Regions from separate parts of the Homo sapiens genome. Here region 1 is linked to region 2. The links are contacts of gene promoters, found by promoter capture Hi-C in blood cells and fetal thymus (Javierre and others, 2016). All regions are on one chromosome and are shown on one strand. The core of a region is centred on a gene start or on the middle of the fragment in contact, and the rest is flanking DNA. Distances in the headings are between cores, read along the strand shown.

Region 1 (5,773 bases), core at 2,255-4,754, 83 kb after region 2:
ACAAAGGTAAAAGACATAAAATGTTGGAGAAGTGTAAATTTTCAGTGTAATGTTGTAATTATAAATACGATACTAAAGAACCTGGCTATTCCTAAGCCCTAATAAAAATTACTTCAGTACCTACCAATTCCTTAAGCTATTAGATGCTTGCATTATTTCTTTAAACAGTATTACTAAACAGTACTTTCTGATGATTGATTTTGCCTTGTTTATAAGAAATCTTTTTATTGTTGTCAGTAAGTGTTGTTTCTGTGGTGCATGATACTTCAACAGAGCTTCTTTCTCCAAAGAAAGATACGACTCCAGTTATAAGCAATATAGTGTCATTGGCAGACACCGATGTTGCCTTGCCCATCATGAACACTGATGTCTTACAAGGTAAAAGTTGATGTTAAGATATTTGACATAAATATTGTTTTGTCATACTTGATAAATCTGTCTATATGCTAAATTTTCTTTTTGTTTCTTATATGAAATAAGCAAATATAGTTTATGATGCTATTTTATAGGTTATAGTATATAAGATCTTGAATTTATGCTCTATTTTAACAGATACAGTTTCTTCAGTAACAGCAACAGCAGATGTCATTGTGGATGTAAGTTTTAACTTTTTTTACCACTGTCTTTTTTTAATAAGCAGATTTTTGTTGTTGTTGTTGTTGAGACAGAGTCTCGCTCTGCCACCCAAGCTGGAGTGCAGTGGCGTGATCTCAGCTCACTGCAACCTTTGCCTCCTGGGTTCAAGCGATTCTCCTGCCTCAGCCTCCTGAGTAGCTGGGATTACCAGCGCCTGCTACCATGCCCAGTTAATTTTTGTATTTTTAGTAGAGAAGGGGTTTCACCATGTTGGCCAACCTGGTCTCGAACTGCTGGCCTCAGGTGATCCGCCCACCTTGGCCTCCCAAAGTGCTGGGATTACAGGCATGAGCCACCACACCTGGCCCAGATTTTTTATATATATATATAATATATACTATAATATATAAAAATATAAATATATAATATAAATATATTATAATATATTGTATATAATATAAATATATTATAATGTATATTTATTATATATTATATTTATATATTTAATATATATTTTATGTATTATGTATTCATATATGGGGTGTGTGTGTATGTTTGTAGATTGTTTAAACAGAAGTATTTTTTTCCTCTGGGTTCTTCTTTTAAAAAAATACTACACAATTTGAGTCATCTGAGCAATAAAAATTATTTTTATGACAATTACATACCAAAAGGTCCTTCAAACATTTAATGCTGAATCTAGATTGCAAATAAATAAGTTATACGTAATTGTTAACGTTTCCCCCTAGTGGAGCTCATACTGTAACTCAGCCATTTATTTTACTATGTTATTAGAGTAGATATATTTGATATTTTAATTAATTTTTGAAAACTGTTAAATGTTCTTTTCTCATTTTCTCCCAAAGCTTTCTAAGAGTTCACCTAGTGAACCCAGTAATGCTGTTGCTAGTAGTAGTACGGAACAGCCAAGCGTTTCACCATCTTCATCAGTATTCAGTCAGCATGCAATTGGTTCCAGTACAGAAGTACAAAAAGACAATATGAAATCTATGAAAATAAGTGATGAACTATGTCACCCAAAATGTACATCCAAAGTACAAAAAGTTAAAGGTAAATCACGAAGTATTAAAAAATCTTGTTGTGCAGATTTTGAGTGTTTGGAAAACAGTAAAAAAGATGTGGCATTCTGTTATTCATGCCAGTTGTTCTGCCAAAAATATTTTAGCTGTGGAAGAGAGTCATTTGCAACCCACGGAACTTCTAATTGGAAAAAAACCCTGGAAAAATTCAGAAAGCATGAAAAAAGTGAAATGCATTTGAAGTCATTGGAATTTTGGAGAGAATACCAATTTTGTGATGGAGCTGTCAGTGACGATTTATCTATTCATTCGAAACAGATTGAGGGAAATAAAAAGTACCTAAAGCTTATAATTGAAAATATTTTATTTCTTGGAAAGCAGTGTTTACCCTTAAGAGGAAACGACCAGTCAGTTTCATCTGTGAATAAAGGCAATTTTTTAGAATTGTTAGAAATGAGAGCAAAAGATAAAGGAGAAGAAACATTTCGACTTATGAATTCACAAGTTGACTTCTATAACAGTACACAAATTCAAAGTGATATTATCGAAATAATAAAGACTGAAATGTTGCAGGATATTGTGAATGAGATCAATGACTCCTCAGCATTTTCAATCATATGTGATGAGACAATCAATAGTGCCATGAAAGAACAGCTTTCAATTTGTGTAAGATACCCACAAAAATCATCAAAGGCTATCTTAATTAAGGAAAGATTCTTGGGTTTTGTTGATACTGAGGAGATGACTGGGACCCACTTACATAGGACTATCAAAACTTATCTGCAGCAAATTGGAGTTGATATGGATAAAATACATGGCCAGGCCTATGATAGCACCACTAATTTGAAGATAAAATTTAATAAAATAGCAGCAGAATTCAAGAAAGAAGAACCAAGAGCTTTATACATACATTGTTATGCACACTTTTTGGATTTATCAATAATTAGGTTTTGTAAAGAAGTAAAAGAACTCCGAAGTGCTCTAAAAACTCTCAGTTCTTTGTTCAACACTATTTGTATGTCTGGGGAAATGTTGGCAAATTTTCGAAACATTTATAGGCTAAGTCAAAACAAAACATGCAAGAAACATATATCACAATCATGTTGGACAGTCCATGATCGTACATTACTATCTGTGATTGACAGTCTTCCAGAGATTATTGAAACATTGGAAGTTATAGCAAGCCATTCTTCAAATACAAGTTTCGCCGATGAATTGAGTCATTTGCTGACATTGGTTTCCAAATTTGAATTTGTCTTTTGTTTGAAATTCCTGTATCGAGTGCTGAGTGTTACAGGAATTCTTTCCAAAGAGCTTCAAAATAAAACCATAGACATTTTTTCTTTGTCTTCAAAAATAGAAGCAATTTTGGAATGTTTATCATCTGAAAGAAATGACGTATACTTTAAAACAATCTGGGATGGAACAGAGGAAATATGTCAAAAAATAACCTGTAAAGGTTTTAAAGTTGAAAAACCTTCTCTTCAGAAAAGAAGAAAAATTCAGAAATCAGTAGATCTTGGCAATTCAGATAATATGTTTTTTCCTACTTCAACAGAAGAACAATATAAAATTAATATCTATTACCAAGGATTAGATACTATATTACAAAATTTAAAGTTATGTTTTTCGGAGTTTGATTATTGCAAAATAAAGCAAATTTCAGAACTGTTATTTAAATGGAATGAACCATTAAATGAAACAACAGCAAAACATGTTCAGGAATTTTATAAACTTGATGAGGACATTATCCCAGAACTTAGATTTTATCGACATTATGCAAAGCTTAACTTTGTCATAGATGATAGTTGCATAAACTTCGTCAGTCTCGGCTGTTTGTTTATTCAGCATGGTCTTCACAGTAATATTCCTTGTCTCTCAAAGCTATTATATATTGCTTTGTCTTGGCCAATTACTTCAGCAAGTACTGAGAACTCATTTTCTACCCTGCCTCGTCTTAAGACATATTTATGTAATACCATGGGACAAGAGAAGCTTACTGGCCCAGCCCTAATGGCTGTTGAGCAGGAGTTGGTAAATAAACTAATGGAGCCTGAAAGACTCAATGAAATTGTGGAAAAGTTTATCAGTCAGATGAAAGAAATATAATACATGCTCATTTGAACTTACCTAAAAGACTTGTATTTCCATTGGGATGTTTTCATTTCAAAATTGTTCAAAATTCAAAAGACACAGAACGATAAACAGTGAAGTCTCCTTCCCTCCTTTAGAACTCATTTTCTCTTCCCAAAAAGTGTTATCTTTTCCTTAAATATCCCTCTAGAGGTATTTTTCCTAAGTGGTATTGTACGGTGTATACTGTTCTTCAGCTTGTCTTCTCTGTGTAACATATTTTTGAGATTGTCCCATGTCGTTACATGAAGAGTTTCTTGATTCTTGGTCTATAATTGCAGATGTTATTGTATGAATGTACCATAATATATTTGAGCAGTCCCTGCTGACATTTTTTTCCTAACCTTTTGCTATTATAAATAATGATTCATTTTATAACCTTTTATATAGGTCACATTGCACATGAGTGAGTTTACTGTAAGCTGGAAATCTAAAGTTAGAATTACTAGGTTAAGATATGTGCATTTTTACTTTTGATAGATATTGGCAAGTTGCCATCTATAAGGATTGTGCCAGTTTACAGTCCCACCCACAATGCATGAGAGTGCCTATTAAATCTTTGTAAGTGTTATCAAATGTTTTGATCTTTCCTAATCTCTTACTTTAAAAATGGCGTTTTAATCTCAGTAGAATTTTGTATATTCACTTAAGAATAAGGTTGGGGACTGGGCGTGGTGGTTCACACCTATAATCTCAGCCCTTTGAGGGCCTACACAGGAAGGAAGATCGCTTGAGGCCACGAGTTCAAGATGAGGTTGGCAACATAGTAAGACCTCATCACTACAATTTTTTTTTTTTTAAATTAGTGAAGTGTGGTACTGCACACCCGAAGTCCCAGCTACTTGGGAGGCTGAGGCAGGAGGATTGCTTAAGCCCAGAAATTTGAGGCTGCAGTGAGCCATGATTGCACCACTATGCTCCAGAGTCTAGGCAACAGAGTGAGACCTTATCTCTTTAAAACAAACAAGAATGAAGTTAGGTATCTGTTTATTTGTTTGAGCCATTTGTATTTCCTTTTTTGTAGACTGTCCTGTTTAAACGTTAAAATCACTGCTGTGGTTTTGATTTATACATCTCAGCTGGATGGCACAATAAATTATTAAGCCATGTTATGAAAATATAACTATATTTAAGTAACCTGCAAAGAAAAGACTATTTCTTTATACTTCAAAAAAGTTTTGTTTTTGTTTTGAGATGGAGTTTTGCTCTTGTTGCCCAGACTGGAGTGCAATGGTATGATCTCGGCTCACTGCAACCTCCGCCTCCCAGGTTCAAGTGATTGTCCTGCCTCAGCCTCCCAAGTAGCTGGGATGACAGGCGCACGCCACCACGCCTGGCTAATTTTTGTATTTTTAGTAGAGATGGGGTTTCACCATGTTAGCCAGGCTGGTCTTGAACTCCTGACGTCAGGTAATACGCCCACCTGGGCCTCCCAAAGTGCTGGGATTATGGCATAAGCCACCACGCCCAGCCAGAAAAGTTTAAATAACAAAGAAAATGTGATATTCAAAGATTTGAAAGAATTAAGTGGTATATATATCTAGGCCTGGAATTTTTTTTTTTTTTTTTTTTTTTTTTGAGACGGAGTCTCGCTCTGTCGCCCAGGCGGGAGTGCTGTGGCGCGATCTCCGCTCACTGCAAGCTCCGCCTTCCGGGTTCACGCCATTCTCCTGCCTCAGCCTCCCGAGTAGCTGGGACTACAGGCGCCCGCCACTGTGCCCGGCTAATTTTTTGTATTTTTAGTAGAGACGGGGTTTCACCGTGGTCTCGATCTCCTGACCTCGTGATCCGCCCGCCTCGGCCTCCCAAAGTGCTGGGATTACAGGCGTGAGCCACCGCGCCCGGCCTTTTTTTTTTTTTTAAAGACTATTTCTCTGGCACTTTTCTCCAGCTGTTTCTCCCTTACCCTCTCATCAATTTTGATAACTTGTACTTTTTCTAGGAGAACATCTATTTCATTGAGGCTTTCTTTCAAATGCATTTGCCTAGAGTTGTAGAAAATATTCTCAGTATCTTCTATATAC
Region 2 (6,106 bases), core at 3,558-6,057:
GGCAGGGAAATAAAATGCAACCGAGTTTTAGAAGATAGTTTTGAGTGAACTGCAAATAGCTGGCAGCAGCATAGATTTGAAAAGGTGGAAACAATGAATGATGACACTGGAGAGGGAAACAAAGGCCTAAACATGGATGGTTTGGATGTCACATTGAAAGATCTTTGCTTCATCACACTGGAGGAAACAGGGTCTTTAAAGGGAGAAATATCACTCGATCTATACAGTACAATGGCATCACTGTAGAGTGTTTTGATGGGATATGTGACTGAAGGAAGGAGAATAGGTAGGAAACTATTATAAAAGTCCAAATGAAAAATAATGAAATAGTTCAGGCATGATGGCTCATGCCTGTAATCCCAGCACTTTGGGAGGCCAAGGCAGGAGGATTGCTTGAGGTCAGGAGTTCAGGACCAGCCTGGGCAACATAAGGAGACCCCGTCTCTACAAAAACTAGCTGGGTGTGGTGGAGCATGTTTGTGGTCAGCTACCTGGGAGGCTGAGATGGGAGGATCGTTTAGAGTGCAGTGGCCATACTCACACCACTGCACTCCAGTATGGGCAACAAAGTGAGACCCTGTCTCAAAAAAAGGAAACAAAAAAAAGAGAGAGAGAAATAATGAAATATAGAAGAACATCATGGGTCAGATACAAAAAATATTTAAAAGCTAAAAACCACAAAACCTGGCAAAGAAATGGTTACTTTAGGCAGAGAAAGAGTAAGAATTTACCATCTGGAGGGAAAACAAGTAGCATGGATGCCACCATCCCCCACTCCACATCTAACAGACACTACCTCAGAACTCTTCTTAGCCCAGCACTCTAGCAAGGCATAGAGTTCATGAGTGAAACAAAACCTACCTGACATCCCTGTCTTCTTATGATACTGCCTGTGGCTGGGCATGGTGGCTTACAACCATAATCCCAGCACTTTGAGAAGCCGAGGTGGGCAGAGCACTTGAGGTCAGGAGTTTTGAGACCAATCTGGCCAACATGGCGAAACCCAGTCTCTAACAAAAATATAAAAAATTAGCCAGGCGTGGTGGCGCACACCTGTAATCCCAGCTACTCAGGAGGCTGAGGCAGGAGAATCGCTTGAACCTGGGAGGCGGAGGTTGCAGTGAGCCAAGATCGCGCCACTGCACTCCAGCCTGGGAGTGACAGAGCAAGACTCCATCTCAAAAAAAAAAAAGGAATGATACTGCCTGTGAGATGGTGTGAAAAATAAAATTGTTTTTTATTATTTTAAAATATAATTGCTTTGCTGATACAATAAAGTCAATAACTTTGAGTGTAAAGCGAAAGAACTGTCCCAGAAGAAAAATTCCTTGCCAAAACAACTAACTCATCTCTCCCATTGATTTTATTTTATTTTTTTTTGAGACGGAGTCTCACTCTGTCACCCAGGCTAGAGTGCAGTGGCGCAATCTTGGCTCACTGCAAGCTCCGCCTCCTGGGTTCACGCCATTCTCCTGCCTCAGCCTCCCAAGTAGCTGGGACTACAGGCGCCCACCACCACGCCCAGCTAATTTTTTGTATTTTTTGTAGAGACGGGGTTTCACCGTGTTAGCCAGGATGGTCTCGATCTCCTGACCTCGTGATCTGCCTGCCTTGGCCTCCCAAAGTGCTAGGATTACAGACGTGAGCCACTGTGCCCAGCCTCCACATTGATTTCCGTGCTCTCCATTCTGGGTCCCTATGGGGTAGCCAGAATGATCTTTCCAAACACAAATCTGTTTCATCTTACTTTCTCACTTAAAACCCTACAATTGGCCAGGTGTGGTGGCTCACGCCTGTAATCCTAGCACTTTGGGAGGCTGAGGTGGGTGGATCACCTGAGGTCAGGAGTTTGAAACCAGCCTAGCCAACATGGTGAAACCCCGTCTCTACTAAAAATACAAAAAATTAGCCAGGCGTGGTGGCAGGCGCCTATAATCCCAGCTACTGGGGAGGCTGAGGCAGGAGAATCACTTGAACCCGGGATGTGAAAGTTGCAGTGAGCCACCAAGATTACAACATTGCAGCAAAACTCCATCTCAAAACAAAAACAAAAAACCCTATAATGGCTATCTACTGCTCTTAGGATAAAAACCAAAATTTATAACAAGGTCTGCTACGTCCTACATAATCCAGCCTTAAACTATATATACAGCCTTATCATAGAGAAGCAGAATAGCACAAGTTCTGGAGTCTGACCACCTGGATTTGAATCCAGTCTTTGTCATTTACTACTAACTGTGATCTGTGGTAAACTATTTGGCTTTTTTGAGCTTTGGTTTCCTCATCTGTAAAATGGGGATAATAATATGGTGGTAAGAATGGTGCCTGACACACTCTTAAGCATATATAAATATTAAGTTAATAATGTCACATATGATTATGATATAATATATACTACATACTGATATACTAATGCCAGCTATTTTTATTGTTGTTGTTTTAATCATTATCATCATCACCATTTTCATACCTTTTCTGTTCCAGGCTCACTGTTCCTGCAGGTCTTAAAAAGAACCATGCATCTTTCCAACTCAGGGCTTTCCTATTCACAGTTCCCTCTGTCTGTAATACTCTTCTCCATACCCTTTGCCTAATCAATTCATTCTTCATAATTCAGCTTACACATCCTTCCCTTAGAGAGGCCTTCCCTAGCCATCCCCAGGCAGACCACAACCAAAACTAGGTCAGATTCCCCATTTTAGGCTTTTCTTCCAGAGTACTTGTCATAGTTTGTAATTATATATATTACTTGACCAATACTTTTGTAATCTCTGCCTCCTCTACTAACATATAAGCTCTACAAGGGAAGGGACTAAGCTGACTTTGCTCAATCCTGGATCCCCAGAGACTAGCACAGACCACAAATTCTTAACAGAATAAAGGAAAGTACTACCAGATACAAGAGAATTTTTTTTAAGTGACAAGTATGGAAAAATGGTAAATATATTACTTTCCTTCCACACACAAAAAAATCATGTAGTTATAGCTTTCATTCAAAGAGCAAAAAACCAGCCAGGAATGGTGGCTCATGCCTGTAATCCCAGAACTTTGGGAGGCCAAGGTGGGTGGATTGCTTGAGCTCAGGAGTTTGAGACCAGCCTGGGAAACATGGCCAAACCCCGTCTCTACCAAAAATACAAAAAAATAGTTGAGCATGTTGGTGTGTGCCCTGTGGTCCCAGCTACACAGGAGGCTGAGGTGGGAAGATCACTTGAGCCTGGGAGGTGGAGGCTGCAGTGAGCTAAGGAGATCGCACCACTGCACTACACCCTCAGCGACAGCGAGAGCCTGTCTCAGTTTGGGTTATTTTAAACTTACAAACCAGAAGCCGTTTAACTAAAATTTTTCAGTTGACCAGATGGAAAAGAAGGAATTTTTTTAAATTTTTAAATGAAGATGAAATGCTTACTTGAGCATTGTCTGGTTCTTCTTTAATTTTGTCCAGAAGCTCCTGCTGTGGTACCACTGCTTTGCCACATTCACCATCCAAAGGTTCTTTCATTCTAATTTTTTACCTCAAAGAGTGTCTCAGGCTCAAACGAATAGATTTCTTCTTGGTAATGGATAGTTGGACACCTAAAATACATACTCAGGCTTATTCTTTTTTCTTCAGGCTTATCTATATGAAAGAAAAACTTTGTGTTGAGTGCATGAGGCTTCACGGCTCGGCATTTGAAAAACAACTCTTCTGGGGCCACAACTAACTTTTTTCTTTCTTCCTGCTTTCTGTTCCTTCAGTAGCTACATAAGAAAACAGTTTTGGGGCAACAGCTCCCACTTCTCTAATATCTTTAAAGACACACAACACACTCTGGTTTTTTCCTATGTTGAAGGTTATTGAAGGGAATTAGACCAGCAGACCAAGACGTGGGAGGAAGTAATAAACTCTGAGAAGAACGGACTCAAGAAATAGTTTCTGACCCCATAAGAATCAGTACTTAGAGGCCCACGTCGGCTTTTATTTCTCAAAGAGGGGCACAACAACCTCCCGGCCCTGACCTATAACTCAACCTTCACTGGAAGCCTCCCTAAGGGCCCCATTTCTCGGCCTAACGCTAGATGTGAGCTCAAGATGCCATCCATCGCAGGCGAACAACAGGAACGCCCTTACTGAAAGTGAGTCACCTGCCTCTTTCAAGGTCTCCGTGTGAGGGGTGGGGGGCATCAAGCCCCTCAGAGCCCCGCTTCACAATCGCCTTCCTGTAGAAAAGAAACTCAATTGGCCATTCAGTAAATTCCCTTCCCCTAAAAGTCAAAGAACTAAACGGGACGAATTAAACCTAAAACAAAAAGCTCTTCAAAGTTGTCTTTATCCGAATAGTCCGGGATGGAAACGGACAACTGGTTGAAAAGCCTGTTCCAAAGAAGAAATGAGAACTTTTGCGCACTCGCCACAAAATATCTACGGGCGCTCATCCCTCCTCTGAGAACCGCACGCTTTCCGAAATTCTCCTTCCCACCAAGAATTCCCACTCCCATCATTGAGGACTAACGAGGCAATGTGGTCTCCGACTGAGAGCGGTGGACTAGCCAGTGAATGTCAACGCGTCCCTAAGGCGATATCCGCAGCCGCCCCAGCCGCGTAGCCCACCTGGCACCGCCCCCGCCGCAACGCCTCGTCACGTGGTGTGGCCTCCGCCCCGCCGTCCCGCCCACTACCACTGCGGCCGCACCCACCTTCTGTCGCCTCCCTGCTACCGGAGGAGCACTGGAATAGGAACCAAGTCCTCTGCATCTAGACAGGGATTATTTTCTCTTCTGGAATTCCGCCTGATCCATCCCAACGCAACGACCGGCCAACCACGCCTGCGCAGCCTTGGTCTCCGCCCTCTTTTCCCGTCAGGCTCCGGACCTGAGCTGAGTAGAACTTCCCAGCATTCCTCTTTCCTCAATTATGGTTCACTTCTTAAAGAGACCGAGGCTCAATAGTGAAAAGGTGGAGATGGCGTTAGAAGGCGCTGTAAGTGCTCTATAGCATTCTTTTTTTTTTTTTTTTTTTTTTTTTTTTTTTTTTTTTTTTTTGGAGACAGAGTATCACTGTGTTGCCCAGGCTGGGGTGCAGTGGCACAATCTCGGCTAACTGCAACCTCCGCCTCCTGGGTTGAAGCGATTCTCCTGCCTCAGCCTCCCGAGTAGCTGGGCTTACAGGCACGTGCCACCACACCTAGCTAATCTGTAGCATCCTTTAGTGCCCATTTCCTGAAAGGTGGCCTACTGAGAGAGCATGATATTAAATAATACTTGGCTTGCTGAGCACTTCACATGCACCATCCCACTTAATCCTCACCATTTAACCCTAAGAGGTATAATTTTTTAATCTCTTGAGATATAAATGAAAAAACTTGCTCAAAATTGAGATTTGGTTTTTTTAATTCAACATTGTTTCACAGATACGTGTATGATTTGTGACTGTTCATTCATTTTGACTGCTGTATAGTATTCTATTTTATGAATATGATACAATTTTAATCATCTACTACTGATGGACATTTGAGTTGTTTCCAATTTGTGGCTATTAGGAATAATGCTTCTGTGAACATTCTTGTCATTGGTGATGTTAAAAGACAAAATTACAACAAATTTAATTTAAATATCTCAATTAGCTTTATTTGTGATTCTAGAATCTGGCAGCACTTCATTCCATAAAATAGAACAAGTGTTCCAATGAGCTGAGCAGAAGAGGTAGGTTTTATAGACAGAGAAGGGCTGGAGAAAGCAGAAGTAAAGAACAAAAAACAGATTGGTTCATTTCAAAGTAACTTTCCAAAAAATAAATAAATAAGTTAATTTCCTTGTAAAGCAGAACCAAGAAACAAAACAATAGAGAAATAACTGATTGGTTAACATCAGGTAACTTCAGTTTATCTTTTTTTGGTAACGATTAAAGCAGAAGAAATTTCATTATTATGCTAATTGAAACTGGCACTCAGGGGAAATTAGACTCTTATTATCTCTTTTTCCTGACTTTTCAGAACTTCAAATAACAACGTAGTTTCCATTTGATGACATGGAACCTCAGTGTGAGTGACTCCATTTTGATTTTTAGTCTGGTTCATTGAGACCTACTGCAGGAGCTTAGCCCGAAACAATGGCCTACAAGTTTTAT

Evidence for each region. The method cuts DNA at HindIII sites, captures the fragments that hold promoters and counts their contacts. A CHiCAGO score of 5 or more calls a contact.
Region 1: a contact is called between a fragment that was not itself captured here and the fragment with the promoter of ZMYM6 in region 2, in 3 of 17 cell types (M1 macrophages, endothelial precursors and megakaryocytes). The highest score is 6.4, in M1 macrophages.

The regions. Positions count from the first base shown.
Region 1 is chr1:35,111,535-35,117,307 of GRCh38, forward strand. ZMYM1 (zinc finger MYM-type containing 1) reads left to right here. Exons shown (of 10, transcript NM_024772.5): 8 at 238-378; 9 at 553-596; 10 at 1,443-4,325. The coding sequence ends at 3,725. Among named protein-coding and RNA genes, the nearest start is that of ZMYM1, 35 kb to the left of the region's middle. The HindIII fragment of the contact is 210 bases long and covers 3,400-3,609 here.
Region 2 is chr1:35,027,138-35,033,243 of GRCh38, forward strand. It overlaps ZMYM6 (zinc finger MYM-type containing 6), which reads right to left and starts at 4,808. Exons shown (of 16, transcript NM_007167.4): 1 at 4,678-4,808; 2 at 3,410-3,576. The coding sequence starts at 3,502. It overlaps LOC124903990 (a long non-coding RNA gene), which reads left to right and starts at 5,583. Exons shown (of 2, transcript XR_007065739.1): 1 at 5,583-6,020. RefSeq lists enhancers at 4,110-4,636, 4,637-5,161, 4,818-4,997 and a silencer at 4,528-4,647. The HindIII fragment of the contact is 24,078 bases long and covers 1-6,106 here.